Linked DNA regions of Homo sapiens: region 2 is linked to region 1. The links are contacts of gene promoters, found by promoter capture Hi-C in human tissues and cell types (Jung and others, 2019). All regions are on one chromosome and are shown on one strand. The core of a region is centred on a gene start or on the middle of the fragment in contact, and the rest is flanking DNA. Distances in the headings are between cores, read along the strand shown.

The links. The method cuts DNA at HindIII sites, captures the fragments that hold promoters and counts their contacts. A contact is called where the count stands out against the background at its distance.
Region 2: a fragment that was not itself captured here is called in contact with the fragment with the promoter of PDE9A in region 1 in 4 of the 25 tissues and cell types used here (IMR-90 fibroblasts, aorta, dorsolateral prefrontal cortex and 1 more).

Annotation. Positions count from the first base shown.
Region 1 is chr21:42,651,077-42,654,870 of GRCh38, forward strand. PDE9A (phosphodiesterase 9A) reads left to right here and starts at 2,545. Exons shown (of 20, transcript NM_002606.3): 1 at 2,545-2,807. The coding sequence starts at 2,739. It overlaps LOC101928255 (a long non-coding RNA gene), which reads right to left and starts at 2,582. Exons shown (of 3, transcript XR_244322.4): 1 at 514-2,582. RefSeq lists an enhancer at 1,509-2,230. The HindIII fragment of the contact is 36,096 bases long and covers 1-3,794 here.
Region 2 is chr21:42,611,480-42,615,502 of GRCh38, forward strand. It overlaps LINC01671 (long intergenic non-protein coding RNA 1671), which reads right to left and starts at 3,616. Exons shown (of 2, transcript NR_131192.1): 1 at 3,374-3,616. The HindIII fragment of the contact is 3,614 bases long and covers 268-3,881 here.

The sequences.
Region 1 (3,794 bases), core at 1,295-3,794:
GGCCTCCCTGCCTGGCCCCTTCCATGCACCCTCCTCCAGCATCCAAGAGGATCCTGTGAAAACCCACGTCAGACCATGGCCCTCTGCACCGCCTCCTGCAAGGCATGCAGTGGAGGAAGAGTGACCTCAAGTCACTCGTGTGACCACGCGGGGTTGCCCCCGTCACCTCTCTGACCTCACAGCCCACTACGGTCCCCCACAGCCCACTCCCTCCCTCCGCTCTGGCCACGTGGCCTCCTGCATAAGGCTGCTTCTGTGCCAGAACGTCCTTCCCTCTGACACACACAGGCTCCTTGCTCCTAACACCTGTAAGATCCCTCCTCCTATGTGACCTTTTGCCTGGCCACTTTCTCTAAAATTCCAACTCCCTCACACTGCACATTCCCTCACACTGCACATTCTATATCCCCTTCCCCGCAGGATTTTTCTTTTTTAGAGATGGGGTCTCACTATGGATTTTTCTTCTTTGCCTTAATTTTTATCCAACACCCTACACATTCTATTTATTTATACCATCGTGTCTGTCTTCCCCAGAGAATGCCAGCTTCTTCAGGCCAGGGATCTCTGCTTATTCTGTTCACTACTGAATTCCCAGTGCCCAGAACAGCACCCAACACGCAGTAATGAGATTGTTGACGAATGGAAGACCGCACTGCTCCATGGGGATCTGGGAGAGGAAAGGGTTCCTCTCTAGGCAGCTGCTGAGGCCTCATCGATCCAGTATCTACACAGGGGTCCAGTCCAGCTCCTAAAAGTGCAAAGTAATTATAGATGCGATTATTCTCCTGAGCACAGAATCAGCCAGGCAGTGTGAGGGGCCAGCCTGCACTGGTGCTGGACGCACACAGAGTCTCAGAGCCACACCCTCCACCCTCCTGGGGAACTGCCCTGCAGAACCACCCCCCATGGGCGGGCACTCGTCCTTCTGGGGCTCTTGGAGGAAATGGTTACAGAAGACTAGGCCAGATGACAATAAGGGATGGAGAATAACTAAGTGCCAAGCCAATGAGCCATCTGCTGGTAAGAACTCCATGCCAGGCAGCACAGGCGGTCCCAACAGCACGATCTCTGGATTAGCCCAAATAGCATCGGAACATTTGACAACAAATTGAACTACTAGTAATAGTGCTCACTTCAATGAGCCGGGGACACAGTATCCCCATGGCGAGTCAGCTGGCCCGCTGTAACCACCCAGCTGGGTCTCCCCACCCCAAAGGCCTCCAGGCTGTCCCCTTCTCATCCTGTCACTTGAAAAGCACAACTCATGGTGCCAAAGCTCTGACACGGACTCCACTGGAGCTGTGGGCAGGGGGTGCCAAGGTACCGAGTTCCAAGCCGTTGTTATTTGAGAGCGTGCCCCCCGCCATGAGAGCAGGTGGGGGGACATAAAGTGACACAGGATGGACTGGCCAAAGGCTGAGGACGATCACTTACCTCACAGGATGATGCCACCCCCACGGACAGGCAAGGAGCTCTCACCTTCCCCAGGACCCCAGCTGCCACCAGAGCTCCAGATGGCCCTGGGGGTGTCTGTAAAGCCTGTGACCGTCCACCAGGTGGAGACCAGGCTGGCCAGGGGAGGGAGAGGAAGTGACCACTGGCCCTGGCACTGGCTGGCCGGCTCCAGCAGGCCCGAAGGGGAGGGAGGAGCCTGGGTGCACCAGACTCTCTCAATAAGCAGCACCCAGACACTTAACAGATGGAAAGCGGTGGCTTGGAACTCACTTCCAACGAAACAATAGCACATGCTCCGGCTGGCTTTGACACTTGCTTCCAAAGGCGACCTGCACCCAGGGCCAGGACCACGGCATCTGAGCCTCCTCCCCCAGCCGCCAACCCCATTCCCAATGGAGGAGCCCAGGAGAACTGGGGGCGGCCAAGGCAGCCCTTCCCTGCTCCGCAGATCCAGAGGATGCCCACAGCCCCCTTCCCCTCCCGCCTTTCCCACACTCCCTGTAGCAATTCACACAAGCGGGGAGGGGACGAAACTGCTGAATCCAGCAGATAGCTTGTGGCGGGGTAATCCTCGGTCCGGCCCCATACAGGACAGAAATAAAATCGCCATTTCAGCTCCGGGCGCAGCTGGAGGAGGCTGACGCCCCCTAGTTAGGGGAAGGCTGTGGGTGACCGAGAAGGAACTTTTCCCGTTTTCTATTCAAATGAAATGAGGGTGGCGGTCGCAGCAGGGAGAGAGGAGCGAGGGGAGTTTTCCCGGCGGGGCTGGGGGGTCCACAGCGGCGCGGCCACGCTCAGCCCAGCGCTGGCTTAGGAGGGACGGGCTGCGTGGGGAGGCGACGGCTCCGGGCCGAAGGGGTCGCTCAGGGCTCTGCACAGCTGTCCAGGGGGCATCGGGAGATAGGCAGCCGACCGGGGGCTGGAGTCAAGGGAAGAAGAAAGAGGGGGAAGGGAGGTGCAGGGAGTGAAGAGGAGGGGAGAGAGGAGAGACGGGGGAGGGAGGGGGGAGGGGGGAGGGGGAGGGGCGGGCGGGCGGCCGGGAGGAGGAGCGCGCGAGCCGGAGTCGGAGCCCGAGCCCGAGCGCGAGCCGAGCGGAGGAGACCCTGCGGCGCGCGGCGGCGGCTCCCGGGCGTCCCGGGCCCGGTGGCGGCGCGGCTGTGGTTGGCTGAGCGCCGCGGGCCGCCCCCCGCCCGCCCCCTCCCCTGCTCCCCTCCCCCGCCTCCCGCGGCGGCTGGCGTCGGGAAAGTACAGTAAAAAGTCCGAGTGCAGCCGCCGGGCGCAGGATGGGATCCGGCTCCTCCAGCTACCGGCCCAAGGCCATCTACCTGGACATCGATGGACGCATTCAGAAGGTAGCCCCTCCCCCACCCAGACACCCCCTCCTCCCCCCGGGTGACAGCGCCGGGGCCGGGCGCGGCGGGGCGGGACTGTCCGTGCGTCTGCCGGTCCAGGCTGCGGCCTCCGTGCGCTCCGCCAGCTCTGGTCGGGGGCGGGGGTCCCCACGCGCCGGCTCCCCGGGGAAAGGGGCGACTCGCCCTGGGGGGTGGGGGGTGGGGGGGCGGGCTAGTGTTTCCGTTTCACAGGCAGAGCTTTTCTTTTTGAAAATCTGATTAGGCTGAGTTTTTACATTCAAGGGCTGGCACATGAAGCCTTTAATTTCCGGTGGATCGGCCCGCCGGGCAGCCCCGGGGTCGTGGTCCGCGGAGGGGGCGAGCAGCCGCCGCTTCCTGTCGCGCGGGGGCAGGTGCGGGGGGCGCCGGCGGGGACACTGCTCCCCCGCAGGTGAGTAGCTCCGACTGCAGAGGGGGACTCGGGCCGCTGCACCTCCGGGGCCCCGCGGAGAGCCTGGGGGGCAGCGGGTCCGGCTCTCCCCTGCTGTGCGGAGATAGGAAGTCCCTCGAATGTCCAGCGTTCCTAGCGGACTTGAGTTACACGGGAGAGGGGTTCAGAATAGACCCCCTTTGTTCGTGGCCCCCTCTGACGGGCAGGGAGGGACAATGAGCGCGCCGGCTTGGAAGGGGCTCTCATGAGCTCCCCCTAAAGTCCCCAGGGAAAAGCCATTGTGAGGAAATCCCTCAAACCTCAGCTGGGCGTTTCAGGAAGCCCTTGCAGCTGCTTCTCACCTTTCTGCCCACGGAGTACTCCACTGAAGGAGGCCAGGGAGAGATGCCCCAGCCAGGCACAGAGCAGGTGCCGGCCAGGCTTGAGTCTTTCCTGTTCCCAGAGGTGCATTTGGCCAGTTTAATCAGTAGATTTAAGCCAACAAGCCTCCCTCACCCTGTGCCCGGCTTGATCCCCGTGAAATGGAAAGTACAGCCCTCTCCCACCGTAGCCCGCTT
Region 2 (4,023 bases), core at 825-3,324, 40 kb before region 1:
CAAAATTATATATTGCAGTTCTTAAATTTGTATATGAACTTTTTCAAATCTGTCATGTCTTTCTAAAATAGTTTAACGGTCTTACCTATTTAAAAGCTTTACCTGGTTGGCTGGGCACAGTGGCTCATGCCTGTAATCCCAGCACTTTGGGAGGCCAAGGCAGGCGGTCTCAAGTTCAGGTCAGGAACTCCTGAGGTCAGGAGTTCAAGACCAGCCTGGCCAACATGGCAAAACCCCATCTCTAGTAAAAATATGAAAATTAGCCGGGCATGGTGGCATGTACTTGTAATCCCACCTACTTGGGAGGCTGAAGCAGGAGAATCACTTGAACCCTGGGGTCAAAAGTTGCAGTGAGCCGAGATCACCCCACTGCACTCCAGCATGGGTGACAAAGTGAGACTCTGCCTCAAAAAAAATTAAAATAAAATAAAAAGAAAAGCTTTACCTGGTTAATTTCAGTATCTGGAGCCCATGATGGTTGAATTTTATTGTCCTCGTTTCTGTGGATTCTTGTCCACACTGTCTTTTCTTTTTGTGTGTTTGCTTATTTTAGATTGTGTGCTAGACATTGTATTTGGAAAAAAAAATACATTTTGTGGACACAATCTGCTGATACACTCTTTCTCTGCAAATTTTTTGTAACTACCAAGCAACTGGGTATATTCACAATCTGGAATCATCTTAATCTAATTTTAGAAATTGAGATTTTTCTGGACCCTCGAGATATCTAAAAACTGAAATAAAGTTATTGAAATGATTTGTCTATTTCCGGCTTTTTTTTTTTCCTTAGATGTAATTCTTCAAAGTCCTAATGTGAAGAAGAAGGGTTGCTAAGACCCCCACCCTCAAAATTGGAGTGTCTCAGATGCTAAATTTTGTCCTTTATTCCTACAGAATGGCAAAAACATATGGCTCCACCTCTTAACCATCTCTTCCATGACTAAAAAAACACTCCCAAGGAAAAATTGCCCCAAATGCTGGGTTCATTTGCCTGAATTTTTATCTTCTTCCTCATGTTGGCCCAGTAGTTTTTTGCTATCTCACTAGCCCATCAGTATTCAAGTATTTTTTTTTTTTAAGTATTTTGTTCAAAAGTTTCTGGCTATCTGCCAAAAGAAGGTTGGTCCATATTGCTTAGTTCACCATTACTAGAAAGAGAAGCTTTATACTGTCATGCTCAGTAGAAATTTAAAAATAGCTCATCTTCTTCTGACACCAATACATCATAGCTTCGTATTTTCTCACTTTGACAGCCTGGTTATGCTGTTCTATACTCTTGAATACAAGTGGGAAAAAACAATTTGGTCAAACTTTTTAAAAAGTTTGGATGCTTGAGCACAGACTAACCAAAAAGTCTGAATATGATGCATTCCAAAGATTCTGAGTCCACGGGTTGTCTAGAGTTCAGAATGCATGTTTCCATGCCTGACAGGCCAACCCACAGGAACCCCTCATGGGGCTGAGCTACGGAGGCTACAGCAGTGGCCCAAATTCTGTGTTATGGAAGCAGCAGGTACAGATAGAAAGAGAACTACAGGAGAAAGAAATGTGCCCCCTCTCATGCTAGGGCCCTCACGCATGAAGGACCCCAGGAGAAAATGTCAGACAGGCCTTCCCTGGGGTTGGCATGTGCCCGCTGTATTAGTCTGTTCTTACACTGCTATAAAGAACTACCTGAGACTGGGTAATTTATGAAAAAAAGCAGTTGAATTGACTCATAGTTCTGCAGGCTGTATAGGAAGCATGGCTGGGAGCGCCGCAGGAAACTTACAATTATGGCAGAAGAGTGAAGGGGAAGCAAGCACCTTCTTCACGTGGCAGAGCAGGAGGAAGAGAATGAAGTTGGGGGCTGGTCGTGCTAGGCACTTTTAAACAACCAGGTCTTGGAAGAACTCTATCAAGAGACAGCACCGGGGGATGGTACTAAACTATTAGAAACCACGCCATGATCCAGTCACCTCCCACCAGGCCCCACCTCCAACACTGGAGAATTATAATTCAACATGGATTTGGGTAGGGACACAGAGCCAAACCACATCACCCACCTCTCTGCATTCTGAGCACACTGCTTCCCTTATTCCAAACTCTCCAGGTGCCCTGGGCCTTCCTGAGGTGCTCGGGACCCAATGAAGGGTCCCCATCCACCCTGTCCTCCCTGCTCAAAGTGCCCCATGCTCCCAAATCCAACCGTTCCCTCCAATAATAAAACCTCAAATTCTCTCCTTGCTGGCCACCTCCGTTCAGAGTTGAGGGAGGGAAGAAACTGCAAACTCATACTAATCCCCTGCCAGTTTGTCTTAGTTTTCAAAGTGACTCTTCTTATAACAGGTGTAACAAGTGAATTGATCATTTCGGGCAAGGAAACAGAGCAGAGAGGAAGCCTGAAGGCAAAGTTGGGGAACCGATGTGGAGGCAACAGTTAGAGAGAAGGTCATTGAGGAGAGGGCACTTCCACTGCCGCCTCCCTCAGCGGGGTCCTGCCTTTCCAGCCCCTCTCCCTCCAAATCCCAGGATTCTCTCAGCGCCAGGGCCAGGGATTTACTTCCAGTGGTTCTGGGGGTGTCCATGTGGTATTAAGGAGCCACAACTGACAGAGGAGATGGGATAGGGGCACTTGGGGGCTGCCCTGAGGCTCCTGGGACTTACTGGATTTATGAGGATTTATGAGAATTTAGGAACTAGGCATCCATAACCCTAGGAGTCTCTGGACTCATATTTTTAAGATTTTTGCCTCAGATAAATAAAATATTTTTATAGGCTACAACGTTGCTGCTTTTTTTCTGTTCTTTAAATCATCAGTTTAAAAATAAATTGCATTCAAGTTTTCATTCCTGGCAGGGTGCAGGGTTAAGCCGCCTACATTTGACTTTAACAGATGATTTCATTGCACTCAATTTTTTTATAAAACAGAAAACCTTCCTAGGTTGTTGCAACCACAAAGAGGAGGCTACTATATAAGAAGGTAAAGGATTCTTAACACACCGCAGAGCCGCACAGGTCTTTGTCGTTAGCCAAGCTGGATCCTGGCAACCACCTAGGACAGTCAACGTGGGGTTTTCTATTTTACAGGTGAAGAAAATGAGGCTTTCCGGTCTGGCTGCTCATCCAGGGCCCTGGTTCCCAGTACAGCGGGCCACGCTGGGCTAGGGTATTATCTGTGTGTCTGCATAACCCCCTCCCGTGGTTGACAGAGTTTGTCTGATCAAAGCATCTTTAGTGGAAAACCACACTCACCACAGGGCTATTTTCACACACCCAAACTTCGGAATACATTTTTTTTCCAGAGAGGACTTCTCTGGGACAAAGTAACACTTTTACATCCCACTGCTGGTCTGGGCAGTCAACTCCCTGATGTCTCGGTTTCTGAACATACCTTGGCAAACTCCAAGAGGAGTCCAGGCGAGAGGAATGGTCCTGTGTAGGCAGAGACGCCCCAGGCAGTGCCGGAGCTGAGCTTCCCAGGCAGACCCTGTTGCCCTGGATCTCACCCCGGGTCTAGCCCTGCTGGCAGACCTGTGAGGTGTTCCTGAATTGGGTTCAGATGTCCCCCCAGACCAGCCCTCTTACAGGCAAAGCCTGTCCCAATGCTGGCCCGTACCTGTTGTCACAGGACCTGAGCTTTAGGGGATTTCGCAATTTCAGATGAGGAAGCTGATTAATGAGTGGCTCAGAACATGGAGGACGCTGGGAGCAGAGCCGAGCAAGGCAACCTGCAGCCCGTTCCTGCCCCATCAGATGCGCCTCGGGGCTTGGGGCTGCACGTAGTCACACGCAGTACACACACACACCACACATACATCACACACCACACACACACTACACACACATCACACACCACACACCACATACACACACCACATACCACATACACCACACACCACACACAGTACACACACACCACACACCACACACACATCAAACACCACACACACTACACGCACACCACACACCACATACACACACACCACACACATACCACACACCACACACACCACACACACCACACACCACATACACACACCA